Linked DNA regions of Homo sapiens: regions 2, 3 and 4 are each linked to region 1. The links are contacts of gene promoters, found by promoter capture Hi-C in blood cells and fetal thymus (Javierre and others, 2016). All regions are on one chromosome and are shown on one strand. Each heading gives the region's core, a stretch centred on a gene start or on the middle of the fragment in contact. The rest is flanking DNA. Distances are from core to core; before and after follow the strand shown. Region 1 holds the start of UBR3 (ubiquitin protein ligase E3 component n-recognin 3). Region 2 overlaps KLHL41 (kelch like family member 41). Region 3 overlaps FASTKD1 (FAST kinase domains 1). Region 4 overlaps FASTKD1 (FAST kinase domains 1).

The links. Contacts are between HindIII fragments. The CHiCAGO score rates a contact against its expected background, and 5 or more counts as called.
Region 2: a contact is called between a fragment that was not itself captured here and the fragment with the promoter of UBR3 in region 1, in 3 of 17 cell types (total B cells, total CD8 T cells and naive B cells). The highest score is 5.8, in total B cells.
Region 3: a contact is called between a fragment that was not itself captured here and the fragment with the promoter of UBR3 in region 1, in 1 of 17 cell types (non-activated CD4 T cells). The highest score is 5.5, in non-activated CD4 T cells.
Region 4: a fragment that was not itself captured here is called in contact with the fragment with the promoter of UBR3 in region 1 in 1 of 17 cell types (fetal thymus); the score reaches 8.2 in fetal thymus.

Annotation. Positions count from the first base shown.
Region 1 is chr2:169,825,137-169,830,863 of GRCh38, reverse strand. It overlaps UBR3 (ubiquitin protein ligase E3 component n-recognin 3), which reads right to left and starts at 3,410. Exons shown (of 39, transcript NM_172070.4): 1 at 2,812-3,410. The coding sequence starts at 3,356. RefSeq lists enhancers at 648-1,147, 1,148-1,649 and silencers at 2,667-2,796, 3,057-3,616, 5,210-5,413. The HindIII fragment of the contact is 16,279 bases long and covers 1-4,666 here.
Region 2 is chr2:169,522,723-169,528,449 of GRCh38, reverse strand. KLHL41 (kelch like family member 41) reads right to left here. Exons shown (of 6, transcript NM_006063.3): 6 at 2,192-2,865. The coding sequence ends at 2,754. Among named protein-coding and RNA genes, the nearest start is that of KLHL41, 16 kb to the right of the region's middle. The HindIII fragment of the contact is 850 bases long and covers 2,678-3,527 here.
Region 3 is chr2:169,541,100-169,546,826 of GRCh38, reverse strand. FASTKD1 (FAST kinase domains 1) reads left to right here. Exons shown (of 15, transcript NM_024622.6): 8 at 123-609; 9 at 1,992-2,106. Among named protein-coding and RNA genes, the nearest start is that of FASTKD1, 30 kb to the left of the region's middle. The HindIII fragment of the contact is 3,346 bases long and covers 1,153-4,498 here.
Region 4 is chr2:169,560,625-169,566,351 of GRCh38, reverse strand. FASTKD1 (FAST kinase domains 1) reads left to right here. Exons shown (of 15, transcript NM_024622.6): 4 at 3,002-3,127; 5 at 5,567-5,727. Among named protein-coding and RNA genes, the nearest start is that of FASTKD1, 10 kb to the left of the region's middle. The HindIII fragment of the contact is 7,307 bases long and covers 1-5,727 here.

The DNA of each region.
Region 1 (5,727 bases), core at 2,161-4,660:
GAAAGAATCAGTGTTATTTCCTACCTTCAGGTTCTCTGGAGGCTTTCCTAAATGCTAACCCAGTCCAAGAAGTAAAAATGTCTAAATATCAGTAAAGGATTGCTCCAACTCCTGTTTTGATGTGCCTCTTTAAAACAAAACAAACAAAAAAAGTTTAAAAAGAAAGAAACAAAGGCCCAAATAAGAATAGCATATTAAGGAAAAAAAAAAAGATAAAACATAGAATTGAAAAGAAAAACCAGTAAGAATGCTATTTAGTAGGGGCAGTAAAGAGAAATGGTTGATTAGTCTGGCTCCAGAGCCCTGGAGCCAGCATGCCTAGCTTACTGCCTGTGTGAACTTGAGCAAGGTTTTTAACTCTGCCCTACTTTCCTCTTCTGTACAATGAGAATAATAAAAGTAATAATCTCAGAGTCAAAGAATAAATAAGTTAAATCACATAAAACAGCTAGAATTTGGCCACTTTTAACCAAATAGATAAAAGTCCAAAATTTTACTACTACTCTGTTGATGAGGCTGTTGGAAAACAGGCAGTCTCACAGAGTAATTAGTACTAAGCCTTAGGGAGGGCAATTTGGAAATCACACTTTTGAGAATTTATCCCACTGACTCTCTTGACCAGGTGGGGAAAAGACAGATACACCACGTTTTTAATTTTATACTGGAAAGCCAAATGCCCATGAAGAGACATTAAATCAAGAATGGCAAATTCACACGCACAAAAAATAAAAATAAAAATAAAAAAAGAAATTAAAGAATGGCAAATTGAAAACATGGAACACTATGCAGCAGTTTTTTTAAAAAAATAGAATGACGACACTGATTTTTTAATAGGAAAAATACATCTAAGATAACCAAAAAATGCAAGATGTAGAACAGTGGAAAGTATGTAACCCTTTGCATAAAAAGAGACTGAAAAACTAGGAAACATCTTTGCTTGTTCTGCACCAAGAGAAACTAAGCGGGAAGGAACTGGACAGATAGAAGACTAGATGTGAGAAAAACTTCCGTGTGTGTGTGTGTGTGTGTGTGTGTGTGTGTGTGTGTGTACTTTTTAGCTATATATTTTACCTATTCAAATATTAAATTTTAAAAAGTACTTTTAAAGTATCAGACATACAGTTCAAGAACTCAAATGTTGGCCGGGCGCGGTGGCTCACGCCTGTAATCCCAGCACTTGGGAGGCCGACGCGGGCGGATCACCTGAGGTCGGGAGTTCGGGACTAGCCTGACCGACATGGAGAAACCCTGTCTCTACTAAAAAAATACAAAATTAGCCAGGCGTGGTAGTGCATGACTGTAATCCCAGCTACTTGGGAGGCTGAGGCAGGAGAATCGCTTGAACCCAGGGGGCGGAGGTTTCAGTGAGCCGAGGTCGCGCCATTGCACTCCAGCTTGGGCAACAAGAGAGAAACTCCGTCTCAAAAAAAAAAAAAAAAAACTCAAATGTTAGCTGCAATTATGTTGTTATTATTATTAGCAAATTCAAAATACCTCCTTTCTGAAGACTTTTTCTTACTCCCTCTGCACAGAAACCTCATCTCCCTCCTCTAGCTACCAAGTTATTGTTTAAGGAATTTATTACTTTCTACTCCAGTGCAAGTAGAGTAAGGGGTTGGTCAATGTTTCATTCATTTTTAATATCCAAGAAGCCTTGCTTGCACATAGTAGGTACAAACATTTTGGAGTAACAGTAACCTTACAAGTACTCCGAAGAAAAAGGTGACCATTTATAAAAAGATTGTACTCTGTCATTAATCCTAAGACCTGAAAATTGAAGAAGTTTAATAACTGATAGCAACCTGTAGTTGCTAATATTCTTTCAACTACTGCCCATCCAAAATCGCCCCTTTCACTTTTTCCTTTTTTCTCAGACTGTCCCTGACATTGACATCATGTTCCAAGCCACGACCCTACATGTACCAACTCTCTGTAACTCACTGCAAACTCTGAAATGTCTTTTCTCATAAGTCCCAACATCTGATGCATCGCTTCTGTCAAAAGGGCATTTGTTGTCTCCTTTTAGACAGAGGTTCACGTATCAGTGAGTGAACAAAGTGCCCTTAACTGGAGAAGACCTAACACTTGATTCCTGGTTCGCTCAGTATTTTGTTTGTTCTCCTGGTATGGAGGGTATTCTGTAACTGACTGCTCAGTAGCCCAATTCTAAATGTCATTCCAGCATACCAAATAATCCACTGACAGCTCAACAGTCACTTTTCATGCAGGCCCCTCCCCTTCCCTCCTCCCTCAACCCTCAAGAGCTCCTTCTCTCACAGTGACAGACACACTGGCAGTTCAGAAGACCTTTTCCTCAAGCGTCCTTCCCTGCACGTACAAGACCACCTCCCCAGCTCTCATCATCCCGCGAGCCAATACGGTCCCCAATAACATCCCCTCCCAGCCAATCCAAATCACAACCTAAGTCTCTTCCCAAGAACCAGGCTTTACAGCCTTTCCCAACAAGTACACACTTGACAGCTCGACACGAGCTTCCCCAAAAATCATTTCCCCTCACTCCCCTCCTACCCCATACACTGGCTCTTTTCTCGCTATCATTTACCCACCCTGGCTTCCCCAAAATTCACAGCCCGGTTTCCTAAACATGCTCTCCGCTCTCCTCTCCCCTCCTTCTCCTCCCCACCCCCTTTCCACCGCTGACAGCTCAGTCACCTCCATCCCCCTGTGGCTGCACCCTCCCCCGCACCCTCCCCTTGACAGCTCAGAGTGGGCTCCCAGTGCTCCGCTCCAGGCCCTCCCGCGACGTCCCCGGCCCAGGGTCGCCTCGCCCGCGGGGAGGGCTCCACTCACCCGCTCTCCCGCATCACGTTGCTGTCCCCGCAGTCGCAGGCGCCCCCGGCCTGGCTGCGGAACATGTTGAAGTCGTGTCCGGTGTGGTCGCCCTGGTGGAAGCACTCGGCGCACAGCGACATGCAGGGCGAGATGCCGCACGTCCGGCAGCGGTAGGCCACGAAGTTGGCTGTCCAGACCAGGCCGCAGAGCGCCGCGGGATCGTAGGCCCGCACCGCCGCGCAGAACTCGTCGTAGCCGCCGCCGCCCGCCAGAAGGCACTTACACCACTCCAGGGCCTCCTCCTCGGCCGCCCCCGGACCGCCCCCGCCTCCGGCCGCCGCCGCGTCCTCGCCGCCGGCAGCCGCGGCCAGCGGCCGCTCGGCGCTCAGCACCCGCTCCAGCAGCGCCTGCAGCTCCTCAGCACCTGCGCGGTTGTCCGGCCGGCTGAGGGCCGCCTTGAGGTGCGCGGCGGTGGCCGCCTTGTCTAGGGCCAGCCCCGGCGCGGGCAGCTCGGGCTGTGACGGCTGCTGGCCCCCGACGGCCGCCGCGGCCGCCGCCGCCATGATGAGAGCTCAGAATTTGGAGAGTCCAGGGCCAGCGGCTCCTCCAGGGAGAGTGAGGGAATAGACTGCTGCGATTGCTCGGCCCGCCCAACTCTCGCGATACCCGGAGCGTCCGCGCTCCTCCGCCCGCAGCCCCGCCCCTACACACGCCCCCTCGGGCTGCAGAGCCTTCCTCCCGCCCCTCTCTCCTGGGCGCCTGTGGACCAAGCTAGGCTCCCAACTTTCTAAGTTAAGAGCTACTGAAATAAAGTACTCACCTTATAGGAAATCTTTAATAAGGGCAATTATTTCTTTATTTGCATAGACTACAGGAATTATTCACATCATCTTTCAGATGTACTTTAGGCATCTGCATTTTGTCTGAGATGTACATTCCTACTGTTATCAAAGTCCAGCGGGCGACAGAATGAAACCCCAACTTAAGGAAAACAAAAACTGTAGGAAAAGCAATCCAAAGAAGAACAGAAGGCCAGGCGCGGTGGCTCACGCCTGTAATCCCAGCACTTTGGGAGGCCGAGGCAGGCGGATTACTTGAGGTGAGGAGTTTGAGATCAGCCTGGCTGACATGGTGAAACCCTGTCTCTACTAAAAATACAAAAATTAGCCGGGCATGGTGGCGCACGCCTGTAATCCCAGCTACTCCGGAGGCTGAGGCAGGAGAATCACTTGAACCCAGGAGGCGGGGGTTGTAGTGAGCCGAGATCGCGCCACTGCACTCCAGCCTGGGTGACAAAGCGAGACTCCGTCTCTAAAAACAACAACAACAACAACAACAACAAAGAAGAACAGGAGTGTTTCCAATCCATAACCTTGTGTTTGAAATGAATGAAACATAATTAAAACAGGTTATTCCTGGTCTTCTACATGAGTTAAGTATGTCACGATCATCATATAACAGTGATAAGTTAAATTTGCTCAATAATTTTACGAATCACTAAATTATAAACTAAATAAAACTTTATGTATTAACTTTACATGCTAAAACTTTGTATGTTTTAACTCATTTGATTCTCATAACAGATAACTTTGAATTCTGCTATTCCTAGAAGTAGCAGCCTCAGACACTTCTCTACTTCGTCATCGTCCATTCACTCTTTTTCTTCTTCCTATAATAATGCAAAGAGGTGTCCATCCACAGGCTTAAACGCAATCCTGCAATCCTTTTACTTAACCACTGGATCCTGCCTTCTCAGGATCCCAACTCCATCCAATATCCTCTTGCATTTTTAACCCCTCTCTTTCTATTAGCTCAATTCTTGTCAGAATTTGTCTCCTCCTGTCTTAAAAATAATTGAAAAAATAATAAAGCTTCCCCCATTACTAAGCATCCAACCATTCTTTTCGTAGGCCACCTTTCTCTTTCTCTTTCTTTTCTTCTTTCTTTTTTTTTTTTTTTTTTTTGAGACAGGGTCTCACTGTCGACCAGACTGGAGTGCAGTGGCGCAATTTCAGATCACTGGAAGCTTTGCCTCCCGGGCTCAAGCGATTTTCCCACCCCAGCCACCCGAGCAGCTGGGACCACAGGCTCGCGTCATCAGACCCAGCTAATTTTTGTATTTTTAGTAGAGACAGGGTCTCCTTATGTTGCCCAGGCTGGTCTCAAACTCCCGTCTCAAGCAATCCGCCCATCTCGGCCTCCCAAAATGTTGGGATCACAGGGGTGAGCCACCGCTTCCGGGGCCACGTTTAATTGTTCACATTTACTCTTTCTTCTTCCTAAATTTCCATTCGCTCCACAATCTGCTACAACTTAATTTCTGCTCCTACTTTATGAAGCCCGACCTCTTTCCAGTATTTGACACCACTACCTATTCTTTTATTTTCATTTCCACTGTCTTTTTTTTTTTGAGACGGAGTCTCGCTCTGTCTCCCAGGCTGGAGTGCAGTAGCTTGATCTCGGCTCACTACAAGCTCCGCCTTCCGGGTTCACGCCATTCTCCTGCCTCAGCCTCCCGAGTAACTGGGACTACAGGCGCCCGCCACCAAGCCCGGCTAATTTTTTTGTAATTTTAGTAGGGACAGGGTTTCACCGTGTTAGCCAGGATGGTCTCAATCTCCTGACCTCGTGATCCACCCACCTCGGCCTCCCAAAGTGCTGGGATTACAGGCGTGAGCCGCCGCGCCCTGCCTCTCCACTATCTCTTCTTTGGGTTTCTTTGACATCACCACTCCTGTGAGAATTGCAAGTGACACAAATGACCTAAAAATTGGGAAACAAAGTTACAATAAAATAAGGCATGAGAATGGAGAAGGAGGTAAAGGTGAATGGAGATCGCTACTTTTTGAGCCGAGACTTGGGAAACAAGAAGAGTCACTCTGGGCCATACAACAAAGTGACTGTGACTTTCTCTCCCGCATCCCTTTCACTCTG
Region 2 (5,727 bases), core at 1,853-4,352, 300 kb after region 1:
GGCCACAGCCTAACTACTCTCAGTTACGCCACCTGGTGGTGGTGGAGGTAATTGACCATCTGAACCGTGGCTATCTTCTGACTCCATGACCTTCTCAATTCATACTATCTCAAAATAAGTTGGTAGCTGGAGTGCCTTCAATCATAAGCATAGCTTTAAAATTTGTGTCTTGCATGTAAATTGCTTCACTGATGTTTGGCTTAGGCTTAGTTGAAGTACATGTTTAAAATATCCAATGACTTTGCATGATTTGAACTCCAATACTTAATGATTTTGTGGAATATTAACTTCACAAAACGTTTTGTGAAAAACAAAATCAGAATAGTAAGTGAAAGATTTCTCATTGTCTCTTCCTCTTTCTGAATTTCCTCATAGTCATATTAGTGGAAATGCTAAATTCAGTGTTTAATTTCCATGAAATGTGTTCCATTTCTCAAGCAAGTGATAACAAGAACTAGACCATTGAATAGGTTAAAATATTTTACTATGCAACTTTAGAATAAAATGATTAGGCTGATGAGGGTTATAAAGGGTTTCCTTTGGATATAAATCATTAAAAATTTAGTCATTATATACTTGTGGTACATGGAAATCTTGATTGAATAACCCTGGTATACTTTCACTAGTTGTTACACATGATCTAACTTTTTACCTGTCACATCTCCTACTCTCTCTAGGCCAGCAGTCCCTAACCTTTTTGCGGAAGACAGTTCTTCCATGGACAGCAGTTGGGGGATGGTATGATTTCAGGATGAAACTGTTCCCCCTCAGATCATCAGGCATTAGTTAGAGTCTCATAAGGAGCATGCAACTTAGTTCCCTCGCATGTACAGTTCACAATAGGGTTTGTCCCCCTATGAGAATCTAAGGTAGCTGCTGATCTGACAGGAGGTGGAGCTCAAGTGGTAATGCTCACTTGCCTGCCCACTGTTCACCTCTTGCTATGTGGCCCAGGTGGGGACCCTTGCTCTAGGCTATCTGATTCAAATGGTTTTCTTTATATAGATACTCTTATTTTTTGATTGATGATTTTTCTATCTAAATAACTTAGATTGTTATAAACAAAAGCATTTTTTATTGAGATATAAATCCCATACTATAAAATTCACCCTTTAAAAGTGTATAATTCAGTGGTTTTTAGTATATTTGTGCAACCATCACCCATATCTGATTCCAGAACATCATCATCCTCAAACCCTGGAAGAAGCATTATTTTTACAACTTAATTTTACATCTATGTAGATTGGCATTCTCTCCCTAAAATTAACCTCAATCCTGATTTTATAGTAAGTACTTCTTACAGTTTTATCACCCAGATGTACATTTCCGGACACCATTATCCCTGTGGCCCCCTCTTCCTCTACACTTTTGAGTCTGTCTTTATAAGTGCCCCTTCCTCTTCCTAACAGTTTATTTGTTGAAGAACCTGTAGGATTTTCCACTTTGGGAATTTCATGATTCTGTATTCATGCTATAATTTAAGAAAAGTATTTTTCAATATAGAAAAGTAATCAGGATTCTACTTTAAATACCCAAAATAAAACTTGTTTCTGTTAAATATATTTCTGTATTTATGGTAGAGAAAAAAAGGTGTATGGACACTTAGATCTGTTCTTTATGCAACTCCTTGACAAATAATCATGAATGTTCCAAATTAGTCCCAAGTCAGGTTTTTCAGAAAATAATATGGGTAAGGATAGAAGTCAAATATATGTCTATGAAAGCTATGTGAGACTCATAAGTTGGTGTGTGGCTAAAAGTGATGATTAATTGATGACTTGCACAGAGTTGAATGTGATGGTTATGAGCAGATTGAGGAGTCAACTTACTATATGCACTAAGAAGGAACAGTGAATGGAGGATATCACATCCCAGAAAATGAAATAATACAGTCACCTTCCTTGCTGTCAGAAATTTAGCAAATAGGTAGCCCTTTCATGGAGTGTAGCCAAAATTTAAACCAGTGAATACACTTCCTCCTCCACATCACCCACTGACCCCAACTGCTGTCCCAGCAGTTTAAAGAATCAATCCATTTCCTAAGGGTGCTCCCTCACCCTCCTGCCACAGATGCTGTAGTTAATGGCTTGAAGACTGTGATTTACTGGTTTTAAATTAAAATTTTAAAAATTTGATTTGGAAACCACAAATAATACGCCAGTGTCGCAAAAAGAATGGAGAGAAAAGGCCATTTGAATTTGACTACTTTTACTTACAAGAGACTTTTCCCCATCAAACGATTTCCCCATCCATTTATTACACTTCTGAAGTAGGATTTCTGAAGTCATCTTATGGCATGTAATTCTTAGTATAATGCACAGGATTCCTGTCATTTTGAAGCACGAGGAGAGGTTTTTGATATCTTAAACATTTTTTTAGTGTAGATGCACATATTCTCCACTTCCAATTGTAATAGAAAATCAGTTTAAGGATACCCTAATGATGCAAATGAAATGATTAGCAAACAACTCAAATTTAGGAGCCTTCTTTACAATCCATTGAGTGAAACAGATTCACAAAATAATTTGTTCAACTGAAGATTTAATTTATTATTAGAAAATGGTTTTAAACTCTGATCATTACATTGAAGAGTCAATGACTGAGGTTTTCTTACCTACTGCTCATCTCTTAGACAATAACTTCTTGAATAATTTCTACATGAGTGTCTGTACAAGCTTTTAAAAAACAGAATAAATTAAAGCCCCATTCACCAAACAAACCACCTCCCAATCTATTATGTTTTGTCACCTTGTTCACAGTTTAGACAGTTTGAAGAGATTTAAACGTGTTGCTAGGCAACTAGCTCCTGAAGCATAACGTATTTCCTTCAACATCCCAGCCCATTCTTTTTTATCATCTTCATACCTGATGGAGGAAAAAAAAAGTAATCAATAAGCAGCTTTAGTTCCATAGGTTTCCCTGTGTTCAGAATACAAATGTGGATCTTTGAAAAAACCCTAGTGGCTCTTACTCAGAAGAAGATGCACCTGCCTGGTAGAACAGAACTTAAATATCTCCCAAATATGCATTGTCTGGATGAGCATGTGCCTGAACTACTGCCACAGTATTTAATCTGGATGCCTAGGCAGTTCAGCATTCTCTGGGAATCAAAGACTGCAGAGAAGAGGAATAAATAGCTAAGCAGTTAAACATTCATTCACCTTTGAATTGATGAAGATGGCTGGTCTCTGAGTCAAAGTAAGCAGACTCTTGCTTAAGAGAAAGAACTGAGGAAGAGCAGGGACTATCGGTAGACTTAATTATGCCTTCAATTGTTCCTATACACTAGTGCCTAGCATGGCACCTGATACACAGCTGTCACTTTATGAAAATTTGTTCCCCTTCCCCTTTATTGTTCTGTTTGAGGACTACTCTTAGACTTTGCACTTGACTTAGGTAAGAACTGGTCTTCATCTCTGAATATTCAAGGTTATAAAGATACAGATAACTTGAATTCCCTTGTACGATGTGTGCTGAACATGTCTGCTCTGCCTGGTGCCTGGAATATTTTCTTTGTGTGGGAAGCTTCTAAATGCCGCCTTCTCTCTGAAACCTTTCTCACCTTCCTTAAGCACAGTTTGTTGCTTTCTCTTTCTCATATCATCCTTTATATGGTATTATAGCAATTATCACTCCATTTTAATTCCCCCCCCCATATCAATGTCCTCAAGCCTCAAAGGCATCTGAGGACAAATAATATATTAATATCTCTCCACAAATTGTCAAGACCTGGCACAAGACAACCCCAAATCAGCCAGGTGTGGTGGCTTACACCTGTGATCCCAGCACTTTGGGAGGCCGAGGGGGGCAGGTCACCTGAGATCAGGAGTTTGAGACCAGCCCGGCCAATATGGCAAAACCCCGTCTCTACTAAAAATATAAAAATTAGCCAGGCATGGTAGTGTGCGTCTGTAATCCTAGCTACTCCGGAGGCTGAGGCAAGAGAACTGCTTGAACCCGGGAGGCGGAGGTTGCAGTGAGTCAAGATTGCACAGCAAGACTCCATCTCAAAAAAAAAAAAAAAAAAAAAAGATTTACCCCAAATCATTCTGTGATGAATGGAGATTTAAAATAATTATTAAAATTAGCTTGTACCTACATAAGACATGCTCTGACTTAATTTCATCAATGTTCCAAATTAGTTCTCAATAATTGTACCATGCACTGATTTTTATGTAGAGGAAAGCATACAAAAAATATTTTGCTACTAATAAAGGGAATAACCTTAATTACATAAAATTCAGGGCAACAAATTAAGAGATAAATAATAGTTTTAAATGACCTAAAGAAAGTGACCACATTTAAACAATATGAGGTTAAGGTTAAATGAGGTTTAAAAATGTTTGCTTCCTGGCAGTTATATTTACTTTCAGCTTGGTCAATCCTAAATAATGGAATGATTTCAAGAAAAAAATACAAGAATGGAATTTTTTTTTTACGTATAGTAAGAGGGTCTATGTTGAGAATGTTGTATACTGAGAGTTTTCACCTCTGCATGTGTGGTTAGGGAGGTTCACTAGGAAATTGAGGGCAAATAGGCAGCCACGTTTCTCTAGATCGGCGGCCTTCAACTTTAACACACATCTAAGTCACCTGGAGGGTTTGTGCAAACACAGATCGCTGGCCCTATCACCCCCAGAGTTTCTAATTTAACAGATTTGAAGTGAGACCTGAGAATCTGCCTTTCTGATAAGTACCCAGGTGAGGCTGATGCTGCTTTGGGAACCACTGTAGTAGATTACAGGTTCTCAAACTTAATTGCCAATAGAACCAGCTGGAGATGTTAAAGATACTGATGCCTAGGTCCTACTCTCAGAGATTGAGTTAATTGGTATGAAGGGTGGCCTGGGCATCAGGATTTTTTAAAGCTCCCCAAGTGTTTCTAATATGCAGCAAAGTTTGAGAATCATGCTCCAGATCCTACCCCAAATTAGGAAATACCAGTCTCAAAATAGCCAAGCAGATAGTGATGAATGCCCCCCTCTTCTCTTTACCCAATCCAGTGGTTCCCAAACTTGTCTACACATATAGAAACATCCATGGATCTTTTAAAATTTCCAAAGCCCAGGCCATACTTCAGACCAATTAAATTGCAGTCAATATAAGTGGGATAGAGGTGTTAATATTTTTTGAAGCACCCTGGTGATTCGAACGTGCAGGCAACTTTGGGAACCACTGCTCTAATCGCAAAATAAACCACAATCAGAGAGGATCCCTCTTTTAGGTTCCCTAAACAATGTCAGGGCCACTTTTATAGCAGGAGATTCTGTACTTTCTTTTGCTGCCTGTAACTGTTCCCTGCAGGGGCAGCATGGCTTTTGATAACCCTTAGGAACCAGGAGGGCTTCAGGGAGGTCCCACTGATTGACAGCACAATTACTTAATATCAGTGTTTCTCAACCCTGGCTGCTGATTAGAATCATCTGGGGCTGGGCTCGGTGGCTGACGCCTGTAATCCCAGCACTGTGGGAGGCTGAGGTGGGTGGATCACCTGAGGTCAGGAGTTCAAGACCAGCCTGGCCAATATGGTGAAACCCCATCTCTACTAAAAATACAAAAATTAGCCGGGCATGGTGGTGCACACCTGTAGTCCCAGCTGCTCCAGAGCCTGAGGCAGGAGAATCGCTTGAACCCAGGAGCTGGAGGTTGCAATGAGCCAAGATCACATCACTGCACTACAGCCTGGGTGACAGAGTGAGACTCTGTCTCACCAAAAAAAAAAAAAAA
Region 3 (5,727 bases), core at 1,576-4,075, 280 kb after region 1:
TTGAAAGAGGTTTTTTTGAATCATCATCTTACCTATTAATTGTACTCATATGTATTCATATTTTAATACATATATATTTTGGGTTTGTTGCTGATGTATTCTTTTCATTTTTCATTTTGCAGTTATTTGAAAAATAGTTTCATACCAACTGAGGTGTCTGTTCTGGTCCGTGCTATTTCCCTGCTCCCTTCTCCTCACTTGGACGAAGTGGGGATATCCCGAATTGAAGCCGTTTTACCACAGTGTGACCTAAATAACCTGAGTAGTTTTGCCACATCTGTTTTAAGATGGATTCAGCATGATCACATGTATTTGGATAATATGACTGCGAAACAACTGAAACTACTTCAAAAATTAGATCACTATGGTCGTCAGAGACTACAACACAGCAACAGTTTGGATCTGTTACGGAAGGAACTTAAATCTCTCAAAGGAAACACGTTTCCTGAGTCACTTCTTGAAGAAATGATTGCTACTTTACAGCATTTCATGGATGATATTAATTACATAAATGTTGGGGAGATTGCATCTTTTATTTCTAGTACTGATTACCTCAGTACTTTGCTACTAGATAGGATAGCCTCAGTGGCTGTTCAGCAGATTGAAAAGGTGAAATTTAAATGGTAGACATTAATTTTATAGAGTTGTCAACTTCTGCAAGCATAATTTTTATCATAGGCACTTTGAGAACTTGGATTGGAATTTGAGGTTTAAAAATTAAATAAATTCTGGGTCAGATGTGGTAGCTCAAGCCTGTAATTCCAGCGGTTGGGAGGCTGAGGTGGGAGGATTGGTTGAGCCCAGGAATTAAGGCTCAGTGAGCTATGATTGCACCACTGCACTCCAGCCTGTGTGACAGAGTGAGACCCTGTCTCTTAAGAAAAACAAAGAAAACTCTGGTTTCTATTTCAGCGATTTGTTGTTCCTCTCCTTAAAGTCACTTTCTCATTCCGGCATTGTAGATTTGGAAAGATCAGCAATCATTCTTTGGTTCATTACAGTATTAAGATTAGTAATCAATTCTTTGAGGATACTCATGTTAGGACAGTGGAGTATGAATGATTTTTGGTTTTACTTTTTCTTATTTCTGTAATCGTGTGGTATTATTTTTACCATTTAAAAACAATTATATTCAAAAGTGTGAGATAAGCTTGAAAACTGAGAAAATTATAAGGTATCCATTGGCAACTATATTCTTAAACTGTCATTGCATCTTCTTGCAGATTTATTTCTGGGACTTGTAAAATGCCGCTTTATGGATTATGTGAGAAGCAGCTCACTTACAAAATCACTATCATAAATATATCAGGGCAAGGCCTTTATTTAAAAGACAGTGTTTCTCACAAATGAAAATAAAAAGTTTGTCTTAACTTGCTTAGTATAGTGCCTGGAAGTCATTAAGTATTGGATGAATGAGTGAAAAATGAAATAAAAAAGCAAATGAAAGAAAAATAAATGCTAGTGATTATAATTTAAGAAACTTCTTTAATTATGATTATTCTATAAAATGTACTGATTATCATGGAAATTGCTGATACTGTTTCCTATTCAATTTAGTGACTAATGAATTCTGAAACAGAATTTATTTACTTATTTTAAATTTAAATAAAGACAGGGTCTCACTATGTTGCCCTGACTAATCTCGAACTCCTGGCCTCAAGCAATCCTCCCACCTCAGCCATCCAAAGTGTTGGGATGACAGGCATGAGCCACCACTCCCAGCCAGAACAGAATTTTACACCTAACAAAATAAATTTGTAAATTATCTGATTTACTTCTTTTTTGTTACATTAACACTTTTGGGGTTATTAATAATGTTGGTGGGGTTAAATAAATTATAGCAGGATGGAAAAATTAATAAGCAGGGTGATACATTTATTATTTAACTGTAGCGATGATAGGAAAAGATTTCTCCTAAAAAATAATTAGGTTAAAATTTTGTCTTATTTTCCTAAAGTTTAAACTATAAATTTTTTGTTCTTTTTATACAGATCCATCCTTTTACAATCCCTGCTATTATTCGTCCATTCAGCGTATTGAACTATGATCCACCTCAAAGGGATGAATTTTTGGGAACTTGCGTGCAACATCTTAATTCTTACTTAGGTAGGTATATTGTTTGGTAATACATTGAGTGAATAAGTCAGAGGATACTTGTTGCTGCTGAGCTAGGAGATGTCCCTCATTTAAAGGGTAACCATAATAGACATGAATTATCTACCTAAAAAAAGGTTTTTTGTTTGTTTGTTTGTTTTTGAGACAGAGTCTTGCTCTGTCGCCCAGGCTGGAGTGTAGTGGTGCGATCTTGGCTCATTGCAACCTCTGTCTCCTGGGTTCAAGTGATTCTCCTGCCTCAGTCACCCCAGTAGCTTGGACTATAAGCATGTGCCACCACACCCGGCTAATTTTTTGCATTTTTAGTACAGACAGGGTTTCACCATGTTGGCCAGGGTGGTCAGGAACTCCTGACCTCAGGTGATCCACCCGCCAAGGCTTCCCAAAGTGTTGGGATTACAGGTGTGAGCCACTGCGCCCGGCCCTATAAAAACTTTGTATCCATTTTAATTATGAAAAATGTCAAACTTGTATAAAGAATTAAACAAAGAACACATATATACTCACCGTGTAGATTCAATAATGTTAACATTTTACAGTGTTTGCCTTATCCGTTTGTTTCTCTGACTCTCTTATTTTTTTCTGAGCCATTTCAAAGTTGTAGTCATTGTGACCCTCCATCCCTAATTACTTTAGCATACATCTCCTAAGAATAATGACATTCTTCTGTACCACCACAATACTGTTGCCACACCTAAGAAACTTAATCATAGTCCCCTAATATCTAATACACAGTTCATGTTTCAGTCTCCCTAAGTGTTACCAAAATACATTTTAGAGTAGTTGTTTTGCACCCAGTATTCACTCATTGTGTTTGGTTGTTATCTCTTCAGTCTCTTATAGTTTAGAATTTTGTTTCCTTTTTTTCTTTTCTTGGCATTGACTTGGTTTTTTTTTTTCTTAACTTTTTGTTATCCAGGTTTTCAAATATACAGAAAAATTGAACAATACAACAAACATCTGTATAATAATAAACTGTATAATAATGAACTGTAGCCCCACAGTCGTGATTGAGTATTGATTAACATTTGCCACATTTGCTCTGTGTATGTGCACAAGCGCGTATGCGTATGATGAACCTTCCAGTTGTCAGCTCTGTGTACTTCAGGTTATAAGGACGTTCTCCTATGTAACTACAATACTGGTATCATTACCAGTACCAAAGAAAATGAACAAGTACCATCTACTACCTAGTCCGTAATCAAATTTTCCCGAGTCACCAAATTATCTTTTATAACTTTTTTTTTTGAGACAGAGTTTTGCTCTTGTTGCCCAGGCTGGAGTGTAATGGCACAATCTCGGCTCACTGCAACCTCCGCCTCCCAGGTTCAAGCGATTCTCCTGCCTCAGTCTCCCGAGTAGCTGGGATTACAGGCATGCGCCACTACGCCCAGCTAATTTTGTATTTTTAGTAGAGACGGGGTTTCTCCATGTTGGTCAGGCTGGTCTCGAACTCCCGACTTTAGGTGATCCACCCACCTCAGCCTCCCAAAGTGCTGGGATTACAGATGTGAGCCACCGTGCCTGGCTATAACTTTTTTTTAAACAACCAGCATTGAGTAGTTATGTCTTTTCCTCCATCTTTTTTGCTTGATATTTATTTTTATAAAATGATTGGCCATTTCTTATAAATTGTGCCACATTCTGGATTTGTCTGATTGTTTTCCTGTAACTTGCTTCTCCATCTCCTGCATTTGTAGTAAACTAGAAATTAGGTATAGATGCTTGGTTAGGTTCAGATTAAACATTTGCAGCAAAAATAACTTGTATGTAGTGCTGTATACCTTATATTTAGATCACATCTGGAGGCACATAATGTCTGATTGTTTCTGTCTATTTAGATTTTGGTTTTCTTTTTGAGACGGAGTCTTGCCAGATTGTTTTTTAAAAGTAAAAAAATGTTTCTTAAGAACCTTAATAGATGTTTGTAAATTGTTTGAAGGGTTGCTGCTCTTATGCTGATTATTTTGCATCTCTTAAAAAGGTCTTTAAAAAAATTATCTTTTAAATTTAGAGATGGGGTCTTGCTACGTTGCCCAGGCTGATATCAAATGCCTGGGCTCAAGCGGTCCTCCCACCTTAGCCTCCCAAGTGCTGGAATTACAGGCGTGTGCCACCACACCTGGCCAGAAAAGTCTTTTGGTAATATTTCAGTACTAGAAAAAAGTAGAATAGAAATAGTCCTTCCTGCTGTTAGCCTTAGCAGAAGCAATATGTGAGGACAGCAGAGACAGGAAATTACTTTTTCTTTTTCCTTTTCCTTTTCCTTTTTATTTTGGGTCCTGAGTTGTGTTTGGAACAGTTTGACCTTGAAGGATTAGAGCTTTATGAGACTTTTCTTCTCAGACTCACACTATGTACTTGTCAGTATGATATAGAAGCTTTAGAGGAGAAATGCTCAGTAACCGTTCCTTTTCAGTCAACACTTTCCATGTACTTACTGTCAGGTATTCTTCTAGGCGCTGGAGATACAGGAGAGAGTAAAAACAGATAAACTACCATGATCGAGTTTACTTTCTGTTAGGGGGAGATTGACATAAACAATAAACAAGGCTCTAAGGTCAGATGGTGATAAGTACCTTCAAGAACATTAGAGCAGGGTAAGTGTGTAGGCTGGAGCATCATGGTAAGTGTGAGATGGAGTGCTATTTTGGATAAGGGATTCAGGGACTGCCTCTCTGAGGAGATGTCATTTAACCATGGATTAAATGAATTGAGAGAGTGATGCATGTCAAGAGTTAGGGAAGAGAGTCCCAGGATGAAAGAAAGGGAACTGGAAAGGGCCCTCGGGTGAGAGCATGTTTGGTTTTTTTCCAGGAACAGTGGATTCAGTGTGGCAGGAGTAGATGAGGGAGACCGAGTTGGTAGGAGATAAAGTTGGAGAGACAGCCAGAGACTGGTTTCCTCAGATCTTTTTGCTCTGCCTGGAGAGTAAGAATTACCCAGTTATCTACCAAGCAACAGATACTGAGAGCTTCCATATCCAGCATAACATGTTAGGCTCTACATTAGGGATTTATATAGATCTTTAGACCTCTGGTGAAGCTGGTATGAAGCAAGTATAAATATATTAATTGTGTCTGCATCATGCTAATGGACTTTGCTACATTTTTGTGGGATCTATGGGCCAGACAGCATCTAACCATGTCTGATACTACTGTGTCACAGCCTACAACGTGAGGCTGGGATATATGTATGTATATATGTATATGAATGTGTTGCATGTATGGTATACATTTATACCCCTTTTTAGTAACACAACTATATGTAGAAAGATGAGACTTTAAATTGAGACTTAGACTGTATTCTCCTGGTTGTTCAGTCATGTGTTGACAACCAGAAGGAAATGAAAGTGCATCTCTTCCCAGGTTCTCCAAATAGAGTCTTAGAAATTAGAAAATTTTGTTGCTAAAGAGTATAAGGAAAGAAAGATTGAGAAGTACAGCTTTGAGTTTTTAAAACTTAATCAGAGAAAGTTTTAAAAATTCCTAGGGAACTTTATAAGTAAAATTTTAAATAACTAATGGAGTAATAATTTTCATTGTTTTGAGTAAAGACGAATTTTGACAGATTAGTTTTGCTGGTAGAAATCATCACTATTAACTTCATTTA
Region 4 (5,727 bases), core at 1,122-3,621, 260 kb after region 1:
AACACATAGCCAGTCTTGTTTTATCTATATCCCCTCCCACTCTCAGTATACTTCAGTATATTTTAAATAATATCATTTCATCTTTAAATACCTCAGTATGTTTCTCTAAGGACTTTTTAAAAATATAGAACCAGCTGGGCGTGGTGGCACACGCTTGTAGTTTCAGCTACTCAGAAGGCTGAGGTGGCACAGCAAAGGATACAATCAACAAAGTGAAGCGAGAGTACACAGAAGGGTAGAAAATATTGGCAAACTACCCATCTGACAAGGGATTAATAACCAGAATATATAAGGAGCTCAAACAACTCTAATTAGGAAAAAGTCTAATAATCCAATCAAAAAATGGGCAAAAGATTTGAGTAGAGATTTCTCAAAAGACCCGTGCAAATGGCAAACAGGCATATGAAAAGGTGCAACATCAGAAAAATGCAAATCAAAACTACAATGAGACATCATCTCACCACAGTTAAAATGGCTTATATCCAAAAGACATGCCATAACAAATGCTGGCAAGGATGTGGAGAAAAGGGAACCCTGCACACTGTTTTTGGGAATGTAAATTAGTATAAGCTCTATGGAGAACAGTTTGGAGGTTCCCCCAAAAACTAAAAATTGAGCTAGCATGTGATCCAGTAATCCCACTGCCTGGGTATATACCCAAAAGACAGGAAATCAATATATTGAAGAGATATCTGTACTCTTACGTTTATTGCAGCACTGTATACAATAGCTAAGATTTGAAAGCAACATAAGTGTCCATCAACAGATGAATGGATAAAGAAAATGTGGTGGCTGGGCGCGGTGGCTCACGCCTGTAATCCCAGCACTTTGGGAGGACAAGGCGGGCGGATCATGAGGTCAGGAGATCGAGACCATCCTGGCTAACAAGGTGAAACTCCGTCTCTACTAAAAATACAAAAAGTTAGCCGGGCGTGGTGGCGGGCGCCTATAGTCCCAGCTACTCCTGAGGCTGAAGCAGGAGAATGGCGTGAACTCGGGAGGCGGAGCTTACAGTGAGCCGAGATCGCGCCACTGCACTCCAGCCTGGGTGACAGAGCGAGACTCCCTCTCAAAAAAAAAAAAAAAAAAAAAAAAAAAAAAAGCCTGGTGTGGTGGCTCACGCCTGTAATCCCAGCACTTTCGGAGGCCGAGGCGGGCTGATTACCTGAGGTCAGGAGTTCGAGACCAGCCTCAACATGGAGAAACCCTGTCTCTACTAAAAATACAAAATTAGCTGGGCATGGTGGTGCATGCCTGTAATCCCAGCTACTCGGGAGGCTGAGGCAGGAGAATTGTTTGAACCTGGGAGGCGGAGGTTGCAGTGAACCGAGATCGCGCCATTGCACTCCAGCCTGGGGCAACAAGAGCGAAACTGCGTCTCAAAAAAAAAAAAAAAAAAGAAAAATGTGGTATATATACACAATGGGGTAATATTCAGCCGTAAAAAAAATGATATCCTGTCATTTGCAACATGGGTGGAACTGGAGATTATTATGTTAAGTGAAATAAGCCAGGCACAGAAAGATAAACGTCGCATGCTTTCACTCATTTGTGGGAGCTAAAAATCAAAACAATTGAACTAATGGACGTAGAGAGCAGAACGATGGTTACCAGAGGCTGGGAAGGGTAACGGGCGATTGTGGGGGAGGTGGGGATGGTTAATGGGTAAAAAAAAATAAAATGAATAAGACCTACTATTTGACAGCACAACAGGGTGACTATAGTCAATAATAACTTAATTATACATTTTAAAGTAACTTAGAACGTAATTGGATTGTTTGTAACTCAAAGGATAAATGCCTGAGGGAATGGATACTCCATTTTTCATGATGTGTTTATTTTGCGTTGCATGCTTGTATCAAAATATCTCATGTACCCCATAAATATATGTACCTACTATGTACCCACAAAAAAAATTTTTTTTTTAATTTTAATAAAAATGCTGAGGTTGGAGGATCACTTGAGCCTAGATGTTCAAGTTCAGCCTGGGCAACACAGTGAGACACTGTGTCTTAAAAACATAATAAAATTGATAAATTTAAATTTTCGATATTACCTAGTACCTTGTCTGTGTTCAAATTTTGTTGATTGTCTTATAAAGGTCTTTTTATAGGCAGTTTATTTAAATCAGTTTCTGAGTAAGGTTCACAATTACTGTGTCTCTTAAATTTTTTTGTTTCTTTTTAAATAAACTTTACAGAAAAATAATGTATAAAAATTATACTAGTCATAAGCATACAGCATGATGAATTTTAATATACTGATCATTGCTATGTAACAGCACCAAGATAAGGAAACAACATCATTAGTTCTTTTCATGTTCTCTTCTAGTCCTCTCACCCAAAAAGGATCTTGACCTCTAACACCATAAATTGTTTCTATAGAAATGGAATCCTATAGTATGTACCCTTATAGTTTAGTTTGCTCAGTATGTTTTAAGGATTTATCCATTATGTTGTATGATTCCATAATTTTATTCTATTGTATGAGTATGTGCAGTTTATCCATTGTACTCTTGATGGACATTCGGGTTTTTTGCAGGGTTTTGCTATTACATATGTGTTGCTGTGAATTTTCTTATGCTTGTTTTTTAGTGAATTCAAAGTCATAAAATCTATAACAGTTCCTTTTTCCTCTCTTTTGTCTTGCCATTTTCTTGTTGAAGAAATTGGATTATTTCTCCTATTAAAAAAATTCATAGCACTGTTGTAGTAGCAGCCATTATATTTGTTAATATGCAACCTTGAGTCAAAATTGTTCTGTCATCTAAAAAAATTAAGTAAATCATTCAAATAATTTTTAGTGATTTTCCCCCTTTCAAAACCTTTCTACAGTATCTGACTTTTTAACTGTTGCCATGTTACTTTTATAATAATAACATTTTAGAAAAAAAATTTTATGTAATTTACTATTTTGATTGCTTTTAATTTTATAACTATATATTATGTGTTTTAAGTGAAAGTAAATACTAATGTTCTCCTTTGTATATTTCCTTTAATAGGTTTGATATTAAACTGCTCTCAGAATTTTCCTCTTGCCTAGCAGATCAGCATTTGTATTTTAGTCCATTAATGGGAAAAATAGCTGATATTGTTCATAGGAACTTGGAAACCACACAGGACTTAAGGTAAATTTATTTAGGGAATCTTGTGTTGTGGTGGAAAGATCCTGGGCTTTGGATGTGGATGCAGTCAGATTTGCTACTCTTAGTTTATGTGACTTAAGGTTACTTAAGCTCTTGGAAGTTCGTTATCCTCATCTGCAAAAGAGGGATAGTAATAGCTACTTTGCAATATTGCTGTGGGGATTAGACATAAGGTACATAAAGTGTAATACAATATTGTTGAGGTCTGTGGAGGATCTGAGTTTTTACCTATTTGCAAGCTAAGTTTGCCTGCCACATTTTCCTACGTGTGCCGTAGGAAGGCCTGAGACTCCGAGGTCAGAGAGAGGACTTTGTTTTTTATAGCAATAGCAGTAGCAGAGTACCAGAATTTTCTTGTGTTGATTCCCTGAGCTCTCGTTCCCATAATGGGTTGTGATCCAGGAGAGGAGCTCTGAGCTTAGGAAACCTGAATCTTTTATAATAAAGCATGCCTACTCTGCTCCAACAGGAGACATTATCTCTATTCTCCTAGGCTGTTTGCTATGCAAACATCCTTGAAAAGATAGTTCTGAACAAAGGCAGTCAGAAACCCACTGAAAATGGCCTCTGAATAAGTATCTAGAACATAGAAGTTTCTCAGTAATGGATAGTAGGTATTATTATTATATCATGAAGTAAACCCAAGAAGTATTTAAATTAAGTATGAATTCATTGGCCAGGCATGGTGGATCACACCTGTAATCCCAGCACTTTGGGAGGCCGAAGTGGGTGGATCACTTGATGTCAGGAGTTCGAGACCAGCCTGGCCAACATGGCAAAAATCCCATCTCTACAAAAAATACAAAATTAGCTGGGCATGGTGGCGGGCGCCTGTAATCCCAGCTACTCGGGAGGCTGAGGCACAGGAATTACTTGAACCTGGGAGGTGGAGGTTGCAGTGACCTGAGATTGTGCCACTGCACTCCAGCCTGGGCAACAGAGCAAGACTCTGTCTCAAAACAACAATAACAAAAAACGAAAAAAAAACAGTAACAAAACTTGAAACAACAACAACAAAATCCAAAAAAACCAAAAAATAAATTAATAAATAATTAATTTACAATAAATTAATAAATAATTAATTTACAATAAATTAATAAATAATTATTTTACAATAAATTAATAAATAATTATTTTACAATAAATTAATAAATAATTAATTTACAATAAATTAATAAATAATTAATTTACAATAAATTAATGAATAATTAATTTACAATAAATTAATGAATAATTAATTTACAATAAATTAATAATTAATTTATAATAAATTAACAAATAATTGATTTACAATAAATAAATAATTTATAATAAATAATTTACAATAAATTAATAAATAATTATTTTACAATAAATTAATAAATAATTTACAATAAATTAATAAATAATTTACAATAAATTAATAAATAATTTACAATAAATTAATAAATAATTTACAATAAATTAATAAATAATTTATAATGAATAATTAATTTATAATAGATTAATAATTAATTTATAATAGATTAATAATTTATAATGGATTAATTTATAATTAATTTATAAACAAATTCACAAATTTTACATACAATTATGTCTTTTTTATTCTTTCCATCTGGGAATACTTTCTTTTCAGTTTCATAAAGGAGAGTTAATAGTTACATTTGCTGAATGTCAAGGAACTATTAATTTGAAACTAACATTTAAGGAGTTTCTCTGGTTTTCATACCAGTGGTTTGAGGGTTTGTTTTGTTTTTAACATAAGATTACTTACTGTCAATGCTAACCTTCATAATCCAGTACTATGATTGTCTTTGGCGTTTCAGATACAGCTTTTTCTCTCATATTTACAAAGTGATTAGCACTTTGGTAAAATTAAATTATAGTAGTTTCCTGCTCTTCTTGCCCCACTCCACCCTACTTCCCTGCCTTTTTTTTTTTCTTTTGAGATGGAGTCTCCCTCTGTTTCCCTGACTGGAGTGCAATGATGCAACCTCTGCCTCCTGGGTTCAAGCGATTTTCCTGCCTCAGCCTCCTGAGTAGCTGGGATTACAGGTGCTCGCCACCACATCCAGCTAATTTTTATATTTTTAGTGGAGATGGGGTTTCACCATGTTGCCAGGCTGGTCTCAAACTCCTGACCACAAGTGATCTGCCCACCTCGGCCTCCCAAAGTTCTGGGATTACAGGCATGAGCCACCATGCCCAGCCCCTTGCCTTTTTTTTAAAAAAAATACACTTATGTGGCTGGGTGCAGTGGCTCATGCCTGTAATCCCAGCACTTTGGGAGGCTGAGGTGGGAGGATTGCTTAAGCCCAGGAGTTTGAGACCAGCCCTGGCAACATAGCAAGACTCTGTTTCTACAAAAAAAAAAAAAAAAAAAAAAAAGAATTGATCATTCTTAATTGATGTAAAAATCTTTGCATCTTTTTTCTTTTTCAGTTCCTTGTCTGTCTTGATGGTCAACATATCTTCTTTAATATCACGACATTTTCAACAACAACTGGTGAACAAAACAGAACTTCTTTTTGACACCATAGATTCTTCTGAGGTCAACGTTGCAAAAAGCATAGCAAAGTTTCTTCGAAATGTTAGATATCGTT